Linked DNA regions of Homo sapiens: regions 1 and 2 are each linked to region 3. The links are contacts of gene promoters, found by promoter capture Hi-C in blood cells and fetal thymus (Javierre and others, 2016). All regions are on one chromosome and are shown on one strand. The core of a region is centred on a gene start or on the middle of the fragment in contact, and the rest is flanking DNA. Distances in the headings are between cores, read along the strand shown. Region 1 has its middle 190 kb from the start of PTTG2. Region 2 overlaps TBC1D1 (TBC1 domain family member 1). Region 3 holds the start of KLF3 (KLF transcription factor 3).

Region 1 (3,291 bases), core at 268-2,767, 520 kb after region 3:
CATGGATTTACATTCTAAACACCAATCTGGCAGCGTCTGTCAAAAATGAAAGATGCACTTTCATTTGTTTACTGAATATCTGATTGCCTCTTATGTCCAAGTGCTGCCCAAGATATAACAACAGTGAGGAAGTAAGACCCTTTCCTCACAAATCTTACTTTCCTGTGGCAGGGACAGACAGATAAGCAACCAAACATGGACTATACTGTCAGAGAGCAGTAATTAGCATGGACAGGGCTGGATAGAGAGTACAGGGCAGAGGGGGCAGGGGCTGCCTATTAGACAAGGTGAGACCACAGTGAAGTGAGGAAACAAACCAAATGTCTGACCAGGACAGGAGCTTCCAAAGCAGATGGAGCAATGAGTGCAGATGCCCTGAGAGGGAGCATGGGGGTTGTCAGCAGAGCAGAGGCCAGAGAGTTGCAGTAAGTGAGGAGGAGAGGTAGGAAGCAAGGTCTGAGAGCAAGGAGGGGTGGGGGCAGATCTTGGCAGAGCCTTTCAGCAGAGACTGTGAACTGTCTCTAATATCCACATTCCCTTCTTCCCTTTGTAATAAAATCCCCCCATCTTTTTTTTTTTTTTTCCTGAGACGGAGTCTCGCTCTGTTGCCCAGGCTGGCAATCGAGTGCAGTGGCGCGATCTCGGCTCACTGCAACCTCCGCCTCCCAGATTCAAGTGATTCTCCTGCCTCACCCTCCCGAGTAGCTGGGACCACAGGCGCCCACCACCATGCCCGGCTAATTTTTGTATTTTTAGTAGAGACAGGGTTTCACCATGTTGGCCAGGCTGGTCTCGAACTCCTGACCTCAGGTGATCCACCCGCCTCACCCTCCCAAAGTGCTGCGATTACAGGCATGAGCAACCATGCCCAGCCAAAATCCCCCATCTTTGTGGGGCTCACATTGAGACCCTATCTCCCAGGCTCTTGTGCCACTTGGTGTGGCTACATCAGTGAGTTCATGCTAATGGACCATGGATGGAAATGGTTTCTGCTACTTCTTGGTTCTGTATTTATAAAATGGGCAACGGGCAATAAATGGGCAATGTTCCCCTCTCTTTTATCCTTTCTCACAGGCAGAGCAAAGACCTGGTGCTGGTAAGCCTATTTCTTCCCTGTGGACAAGGCAAAGTCTCCAGGGCAGAGTTTCTTAAAGAAAGTGTGGTCCTTGGACCTGCATCCTCAGCATCATCGGGAAACTTACCAAAATGCAAATTTTCAGGCCCCCCTCCAGAACTACTGAATCAGAAACCTTGGGGGTGGGGCCCAGCCATCTGTATTTTAAGAAACCCTCCAGGGGACTCAAGCTTCAAAACCACTGCCCAAGAACAGGGTTGCTCAACATCAGCAATACTGACATTTTGGACCCATGATAACTTGTTGCGGAGGCTGTTCAAAGTATTGTAGGATGTTTAGCAGCCATCTCTGGCCTCTACCCACTAGATGACACTAACACACACCCTTCTTCATTCCCCAGTTGTTAAAACCAAAAATGTCTCCAGACATTGTCAAATGTACCCCAGGGAACAAAATTACCCCTAGTTGAGAACTACTGCCCTGGATGTTGGAGGAGTAAGAAGACAGAAGGAACCTGGGTCTTCAGTTGGCCTTGTAGAACAGAAACACTCTCCATCCCAAATGGCCCACCTGCCCTCTGGACTGCTATAAAGGTTTGAGAAGTTGCTATTTTGTTTGAGCAACTCTATTTTGAGTGGCTGTGCAGAAGCTTAAATTGCATCCCAACAACTGCCAGCCTTTCAGGGCCTCATAAGTACTTAACACTTTGTTTTAATGTGATGGGAAACCACTAGAGTTTGGTTAAAGCAGGGTAGTGACATGATTTGTTTTGAAAGGTCCACTTTGGATGCTGTGTGAAGAACAGACTGAGGGGATGTAGAAAGGATGTGTTTGATGGACTGGATGTAGGATATGAGAAAAAGAAAGGGGTCAACTAAGCAACTGAGTGAATGACAGTGCCATTGACCAACACGGAGATCTGTGGGGGACAGGGTTGATCTGAGGGGATGGGGATCAGGACTTCAGTTTGTGCTCTTTGCTGCTGTGATTCACTGAATTTATCTTTCAGATACATTTACAGATTCACAAAGGTATTATGTGCAGATATGCTCAAGGCAGATAAACTCAAATGTCCATCAGTGTGAACCTGGTTCAATACGTTGTGGTGCATCCAAGCACAGAAATATTATGTTCAGGTGTTGAAGAGTGAAGTGGGCCGGGCGCAGTGGCTCATGTCTGTAATCCCAGCACTTTGGGAGGTCAAGGCAAGCAGATCATGAGGTCAAGAGATCGAGACCATCTTGTCCAATGTGGTGAGACCCTGTCTCTACTAAAAATACAAAAATTAGCTGGGCGTGTAGTCCCTGCTACTCTGGAGGCTGAGGCAGGAGAATTGCTTGAAGCTGGGAAGGTGGAGGGAGCCAAGATCATGCCACTGCACTCCAGCCTGGTGACAGAGTGAGACTCCATCTCAAAAAAAAAAAAAAAAAAAAAAGATAAAAGAAAAAAAAAGACTGGAGTGGATTTGTATACTGCAGTGGCAGTGGTCAAGAGCATGGGCTCTTGAGTCTGAACTGCTGGGCTTGGTGGCCTTGGGCAGTAGGCATGACCTCTTTAGATAGCTTCCCCAACTATAAATTAGGATAATAATGGTACCTCTCCTATAGTTTTGAGATTAAATGAAACAAACTTACACAGTACTCATCAGTACTTGGCTCATTCATTAGTTATCTCTTTATGAGTGTGAACTATTATTTCTATCATTATCTACATGTACTGATATGAAAATATTCCCAAGATATTTTTAAAGAGCAAGGTAACTGATTAGTGTGTATAGTGTTATCATTTATGTGAAAAAAAAAGAATATCTGTATAAACACACACACATACATACATTCTGTAGTATGCATATCAATTCATCCTGTAGTATGCATATCAATTTTTGGAGGAAGAGATAAGAAACTGCTAAGTGATTACTTTTGGGAAGTAGGATATAGGTTGAGGGGACTTTGGAAAACTTTGTTTTGTATGTTTCTGTTGTGTGTGCAAGTCTTTAGCACATGCAACATATCAAGGAAAGATATCTTTTAGAAAGACCACATACTGAAAAGGTGGAAACTAGGTTGTTGGTTGTTGGTTTTTTTTTTTTTTACTGTAGGATTTTCTGGCATCCTTAACACATGCTAACATATTTTTAATCTCTCAGAGGAGCAAAATCCTTGAAATGGTGTGCCTCAGAACCTCCCCAGTCTAGGAAACAGGGAGGGCTAAGGCTG
Region 2 (3,633 bases), core at 523-3,022, 530 kb after region 3:
AAGAGTTAAGTGCAGAAACAGCCTCTCAGAAAGCTCTGGGACTGCCTGACCTTAGCAAAGGACAATCTGTCTGCTCCATAATAAAAAGGACCCATTCTCCCGGGATACCTTTGATCCCAACTATAAACAGATCAGGGTGGGAAAGGTCCTCTGGTCATGGGAAAGCCCAGCCTGCTGTTGCCTTTGGTGAGTTAATGAACTACCATATATTTGTGATTCAGGAAGCTGCTTTATAAATATGCTCTACCTGCAACTGTTCAAGGAGGTCAAGGTTCTGTTTGCGTAAGCTGCTGTTGGTTTTCTCTAATTTATCCATTCTTTGGTTGTCACTGAGAGGAGAGGAATCGATAAGTTCTTCTTGAAGGACGTGGTACTCAACTTCATAAGCTTGTAACTGTTTAGCGATGTCCATTTCAAATACCTGTTATAGAAAGAAAAGTCATCACGTACTAAAACTGAGAAAAACCCCACAAGTACAGGCAGGCGTCTGCAATCACGACAATGCGCACCTGTGAAGCGTCTCCTCTACGCTTAGCTCTACACTTGGTACTAGAAGTAATAAATAAGAAAAACTACGCACTGAGAAGGTAATAATTTTACTTGGGACAAAAGGATATAAGAAACATCTAGAAATAATTCCAAGGTAACATTAAGTACAGGTTTTTGATACTCACCTTCCAAAAGCCAAAAAAAAAAAAAAAACCTCTCATTTTTAAAGACATAAAAATTTATTTTTAGTTCTTATTTCACTTCTTTTCTCTGAAAATTCTGTTAGGTTAGATACATCAACTATGGGTTAAAAGGAGAAAAGAAACAAAAGAATCATAGCCTGTTTGCAGAGTCACCAAGTCAAAGTTTAATTATAGTTCAGTTGGGTTTTCAGAGTTACAAGAACAGCTAAGTAATGGGACTGTTTACTAAAAAACTCTCCTTTGCACACAAATATGCAGAAATGAGCCAAAACCCACATGTCACCCACACAGATGAGTGAATACGAAACGATGCCTGAGTTGTCTTCTTTCCCACAATAGTAATGGTGACGAAAACACCACACGTGTGAAAAACAACTCCTAAGTGCCTAAGTGACTCAAGCCGTCCGTGTCTGTACTTTCTCTTGGTAAGGAAGGCAGGGCGGAAAGCAGAATCAGAAGACAGCTGCTGCTGCTGCTGCCCAAGGCATTTCCTTTCTTTCCAGTTGTTTCTATGAGAGAACCCCAGGGGCTGGGGCCTCTCAGCACAGCAGTGAAGCCCTAACGTTTATCTGATGGATCTGAGAATGCAGTCAAGCTGGGACCATCTTAAAAGAAAAAAAAAAAAAACCCTGCTAGATCAGAACACACATTCAGAAAGTGAAGTCAGGCTTTAAAAGGGCAGAAACTGCCTCTCTATTGCATTGCCTTAAGCAACTCCAATATTGTTAAAAATCAGTGTAAAACTACTTCTTCTGATGGCTCCCTACTGGCATTCAAACTAGCCTATCTTCCCTGGAATCAATTTTCAAAAACCATGTTTCCTTTCTCACCATTCCCAACAATCTTATTTTCTCTTCCTTGAGATGAATTTTTCAGCTTGCTGTTTTTGATTCAGTGGATAATATTAATAAGGCACAAAAGTCATTTGATGCCTAAAAACTAAAATCCATTATATCTGTGGGGTGTGTGTGCATGTGTGCGAGGGGAGTAAGAGGGAGAGAGAGAATTGTTTACTGGATTGAACTGATTCTCTTTTGTCCTTCAGAGCGACCGTGAGGTCAGCAGGGATTATTATCTCCATTTGACAGCCGAGGTAACTGGCTCAGAGGCTTTGAGTCAGCCTTAAAATTGCGGCTCCACTGGCGACTCTATGAATGACTTGAGCTCGGTACTTAACCTCTCTCAGCCACAGTTCCTGGCCTCCCACCTGGGGCAGACAGCGCCTACCTCCCAGGATGGCTGTGAGAATTAAACGAGGCAACTCCTGGAAGTTCCCAGCACACGCCTGGCAGGTTGAGCAGGCGCTCTCTTAGCTAAGGGATCTGCTTCCACACACCTGCCACAAAACCCTCACATTTCAACCTCAGCAAAACCATCATCAATGGATGCCACGTCATGGAACTTCTGAATAGTCTGAACAGTAAAAACCACAAATGTTAAAACTGAGATTGTTTGGCACTCATGTATAATTATAAATATGGTGCTGAATAAATGTCATGTACACTATTACTTTTTTTCTTTCACAAAGATTTAAGTGATCTCCTAACCTGGAAAGCCTGGGAACAAAACCTCTGGCTTTTCCTACGGATTGATGTTCTGTGTTAAGTTAATGGCTCTCAGCAGTACCCAAAGCCATAAACTCTTCCAGGCCTCCATTAATCCCTAGGAACCACCCTGGGTCACAATCATCTCTGCTTAATTGCCTGATGATCTCCTGACTGCCAAGACTCCTAGGCCCTTCATTCTGCAGTTATGCCCCTGAATTTACCCCAAACCATGGCAATATGAGGCTGGTGGTCAAAGGAGAACCCTGGTCACTGAACGAGGGCTTCAGCCCTTGGGCTAATTACTTGGGGAAAGAAAAGAATTGGGAGGGGCGCCTGTCCTTGCACACTTAGACAGCACAAGTGATCCACTGCCAGGAGCAGTTCTCAGCCAGAGAAAGAGCAGGAAGGCCTAACATTAAAAACCCAATCCTTTGGTATGTTGTCTCAGATGAATAAAACAGACGAATATTAAAAACTAGGTGTTGATAGGAAAACAAGATATATACACTTTAAGGTGTTTTCATTTCTGGTCTGAGTCACTCCTGAGGCTGGACAAGTGCAGTGCCCACCTCCCCCAGGGTCTTGCCTAAGCCGTTCCCTGAGCACTGGTCACTACACAAAGCTGCAAGGTACCTGGCCCCTCTGCAAGGGGGACTGGCTCTCATCTTCTTTCTTGCTGGCCCATCTCAGAGCAATTCCACTAGAGTTGTAATTACTGGGGATCTAGAGCCTTCCTGTCATCCTGGCTCTTAGGTTCTTCATAGTTTTCAGTCAAGTTCCAGAATTTTGGTACTGAAGAAAATTTCTCTTCTGTTTGCCAAAGTAGGAATGACTATTTCCATACTTTCGATGTTTTGCCGAAAAGATAAAACTATTTTAAGTTACTGAAGCAATAGAGCTACATTATTGGAAGCTTGAAAAATAAAAGAAAAATCACCAAATACAACTTTTATATCTAGCTATATTTCCTATTTCCTAAAAGCATGTTTTTCTAGTTCTAAACATAACCAACATAAAATTTCCTATCCCACTTTTCCTTTACTTAACATTGTATCAAATAAGAGCTTTTTCATGTCGCTATATATAACTGGCTTCATGATATTCTACCAGCTCAACCTACCATCATCATATTAATCCAGTCATCAAGTGTTAGACATCTAGTTCCAAGTTTCTGTTATTATAAGTGACAAGTCTAGGAGAATAACCTTATACATATGGCTTCCCTCATATTTTGGATTATTTCCTGAGGATACATTCCAAGAAACGGGATGACTGAGTCAAAGGGTATGAATATTTTACTGGCTTGGGATATGTTTCGCCAAATTGTCTCCCAACAGCCACTAATCAATGTGCACTGCCATCAGCAACATGCTAATGTTCTGCATACAGTATAC
Region 3 (3,607 bases), core at 218-2,717:
AGAATATAATCAATATATTTAAAATGTCTTGGGTGATATTAATGGAAACATAAATTCTGAGTAAGAAATTCAGTGGTTAAGTGTAAAATGTTTATTTTAGTGAAATACAAGAAGGTGAGCAATTTCCAATTTCCGTTTAACTTGACTTATTAAAAATAAGTCTCATTCACATTCTTCTAGTATTATTGTATACTGCTATAAAATTTAAACCAGAAAAGTGCTTCTCCTTGTCAGTAGCTATCTGCCCAAAAAAATGAATATGACAATTCCAGATCTCATCTGCCATCTCTAAGAAAGCCACTTGGAAATGTTAGGTAGGTCCCATGGGTCCTGATCCAGGGATCTGTCCCTGGGTCCCCATCAGGCTCGGCTGCAGGCAGTTGCCTAAGGCGTCTTCCGCCTTCAGCCACGCTGCAATCCTTGCTCCAGGCACTGCGGCAGGTTCTCTCCATGCCCCCAGGAAGACTCTCCAAACCCGACCAGCTCATTTCTCCTGCCCCGGAGGATCCAGACGCCCTGGCAGCTCCTGGGCTCCAGAACCGAGAATGGGATGCTGCCTCCAATCCCAATTGCCCTAAGTTTCTTTCCAGAGGGCCGGGAGACTGCTCCAAGTTTGCTGTGGCGGGCGAGCGGCCGCGCGCCGTGTCCTGGGAGGGGGGCGGCGGGGGGCGCGGGCGGAGGGAGGGGAGGGGAAGGACGCGGGAGCCTGGGTTGTGGTGGTGGTGGGGGGGCACCGGGAGGGGGAGGAGCAGGAGCGCGCGGCCGCGGCGCTACCTTTCTCCAAACAACGTTGCCACACGCGGAGAGCACGGAGATTTCTGGGGCTTTGGAGGGAATCGTGAGCGGGCGGGAGGAGGCCGGGGACCACACAGGTGAGCCCCCGCCCGCGCCCTGCCCGGGACGGCGGCGGGCGCTGCCAGCCCCGCTCCCCCGCACCCGGGGTCCGCACGGTGCCTCGCCTCAACCCCTCACTTTTCACCGCGAACCCGTGACCCCCTCCTCCTTGCTTGCTCTCCGCCCCCACCCCGGCTAAGTGTAGCCGCCACACTTTCCCAAGCCCGCAGGCGCCCCCCCCAACACCAGCGCTGCACCCCCGACCCATTCCCCGCGGCCCCCTCCAGGAGAAAAAATGAAACCAGACTGGCCGAGGAGGGGGGCGGCAGGGACCAGGGTGCGGAGCAGAGGTGAGGGAGACGGGACTTACTTTGCGAGGCGCGGTGCAGGGCGCCGCCGACGAGAAATAAAGGCCCCGATACGGGCTGCCTGGAGCCCCCCGAGCGCAGCAATGTCAGGGCTCCAGTCCGGGCGGCGTTGGCGGCCGCAGGGGACGGGGACGGGCGCGCGTGCGGCGGGCGCTCTCGCTGCGCTCCGGCTCGGGCCCCGGCTCCGCGCGGCTCCGCTCCTGGCTCCCCTCTGGCTCCTGGCACCAACTCCGGGCAGTCACATGACGCCGGCGCCGCTCGCTCTGCGAGCCTCCCGGGGCTGGCGGGGTAAGTAGAGGCTGGGACCCGGGGTGGGAGGGTCAGGGAGGGGAGAGGGAGCCGCCGCGGCCGCCCGGGCTGGGCGGGTCCCCACCCACTTGGGTGGAGGCAGCCGCCGGAGGGGTCGGCCGAGTCACTCGCGCAAACACGCACCCCGCCCTGCGCCCTTCCCCCGCCACCCCCGCCTCCCGCGCCGCCTCCGCCCCGCCCCGCCCAGTCACCCGGGGACGGCCTGACAGACACTCATTATTCCCCGGAGCCGGGCGCCGCCCCGCCGGCCCAACCTGTCCCACGAGGCGCGGCGCGGCCGTGGGGCTGGGCGTGCGCGGCGCGGCCTCCGCCCCCCGCCCGCGTCCCCGCCCGCGTCCCCTCCCCGCGCCCTCCTCCCCGGAGTCCGCGCCCCGCCAGCCCTCCCGCCCGGCCCAGCCGCCGCGCCGCCGCCCGAGCCCGGGGGGAAGGAAGGGCGGCGCTGCCCGCTCCGGGCGTCACACGGCTGCGGCCCGCTGCGCTGCTTCCAAAACACACAGCCGGGCTCGCGGGCGAGCCGAGGCGGGGGGCGCGGGCTGCCAGGGCCATCGATCAGCCGGCTCCAGCGGGAAGGGCGGCCCCGGGCGCGGCGGGAAGGGCTGGGCCCCGCGGCCGGCGCGGCGCGGCGCGGCCCCTCCTCGGCTGAGCGCACTCAGCTCACTGCAAGAGAAAAGCCGAGCCGAGGCGGCCGCGGTGCAGGAGCGAGTGGGCCGGGCGGGTTCGGGAGGGGAAGAGCGGCCGCTGGGGCGCGCCGAGCCTCCCTGGCCCCGAGTCGCCGGGGTCAGGGGACACCCTGTAGGCGCGCTCTTTCTTTGTGCCCTGGGGCGACGGGTCCCCCTGGCCGGCGGCCCAGGCGGCGCCCCCCACCTCGTGGGACTTTTCTTTGAAGGCCCGGAGACCCCTGGGGCAAAACTCCCACGGGCCAGGCCTGCCGCTGGAGCTAAAAAGCGGCATTTGCGCAGTTGGGCTTGCCTGGAAACTTGGCAAACTTTGGTCGGATCCTCCCCTGCAGAGCGAGGGCCTGGCCTGGCGACCCCCTCATTTCAAGTCGCTTCTAGGGACCTAGCGCCCTAAGCTCAGTGGCCTTCAGGGTGCTGCGAGCGAGCGGGGCGGCACAAAAGCGCGTTCGGTCCAAGCCAGGCCCCTTCGAGGACTTTGTGTAGATTGGTACCTAAGTTTAATGCCTTTTGAGTTTCTTTTTAAACAGTATTAATGTAATAATTAATGTAATAAAAAGAACAAAGGACGAATTCGTTCGATTGTTTTAAGTTCTGTGTAATGTTTAAAACCGCCCCTGCTTCAGTGTATGGCTTATTATTGCTTCAAGATGTTTTAAAGGCCCTTTAAGTTGACCCATCTCGCTTTGATGCTTCATCCAGACATCGTGCTGCTTAAAACGGAGTGATAATAGTATATTTCGAGCCGCTTCATGTAGCTACACAGTATTGTAAAATTAGTACTCGGTAACCTCAAGTAGTGAAATCGCATATTTTAAATAACGCAAGTCCAGGAAAGGCCACGTGGAGGATACCCAGAACCGACGCCGGCTCATGGGACGTCGTGCTGTCCCATAAGCTTCATCTTTAAAATGTAAAGGGTGTGAGTTTTTTTTTTCTTCATAATGAATAAAAGACATTCCAGAAAAAAAAAGAGTTGGATTCGTGTCAATTACTAATTGCCATTTATTGATCACTGACATCATTAAATGGCTGATTGGCTGCCTTAAGGTTTGCATTAGCGGAACACCGTGCTAGGAATGGCTGGTGAAACTGGCTCATAGTAGGTGCTCAAAAAAGTACGTTTTTTTCTCCAGGGACACAGTGACGAGAACTTGAAGCACATAAACCATGTTTTTTACCTTGTTCATGTGGGTGTGGACGCAAAGGGGAAGAGCGAAATAGGCCTGTCGGAGAAAAGTGTGACCCAAGATAAGAAGGGAGTGGTTTTGATATGGAAGGGGCAGGCGGCAAAGGAGAAGAAAAGCCATTTTAAACAGTTAATTAGTGAACACTGTGTTCGGTGCCCTGTGGGAAGCTGCTCAAATGCAACTTGTCGGAAATGAATCTATCTAGTGCTGGGTAGCTCAGTGAAGGACACCA

Evidence for each region. Contacts are between HindIII fragments. The CHiCAGO score rates a contact against its expected background, and 5 or more counts as called.
Region 1: a contact is called between a fragment that was not itself captured here and the fragment with the promoter of KLF3 in region 3, in 1 of 17 cell types (fetal thymus). The highest score is 5.1, in fetal thymus.
Region 2: a contact is called between a fragment that was not itself captured here and the fragment with the promoter of KLF3 in region 3, in 10 of 17 cell types (total CD8 T cells, fetal thymus, activated CD4 T cells and 7 more). The highest score is 17.2, in total CD8 T cells.

Annotation. Positions count from the first base shown.
Region 1 is chr4:38,146,748-38,150,038 of GRCh38, reverse strand. No RefSeq gene overlaps it. Among named protein-coding and RNA genes, the nearest start is that of PTTG2, 190 kb to the right of the region's middle. The HindIII fragment of the contact is 419 bases long and covers 1,308-1,726 here.
Region 2 is chr4:38,129,872-38,133,504 of GRCh38, reverse strand. TBC1D1 (TBC1 domain family member 1) reads right to left here. Exons shown (of 22, transcript NM_001396959.1): 21 at 248-421. Among named protein-coding and RNA genes, the nearest start is that of PTTG2, 170 kb to the right of the region's middle. RefSeq lists a silencer at 428-567. The HindIII fragment of the contact is 2,765 bases long and covers 390-3,154 here.
Region 3 is chr4:38,662,059-38,665,665 of GRCh38, reverse strand. KLF3 (KLF transcription factor 3) reads right to left here and starts at 1,467. Exons shown (of 6, transcript NM_016531.6): 1 at 1,205-1,467. It overlaps KLF3-AS1 (KLF3 antisense RNA 1), which reads left to right and starts at 773. Exons shown (of 16, transcript NR_171644.1): 1 at 773-872. RefSeq lists silencers at 727-1,076, 1,137-1,736, 1,747-2,016, 2,047-2,566, a promoter at 1,205-2,007 and an enhancer at 3,278-3,599. The HindIII fragment of the contact is 3,872 bases long and covers 1-3,085 here.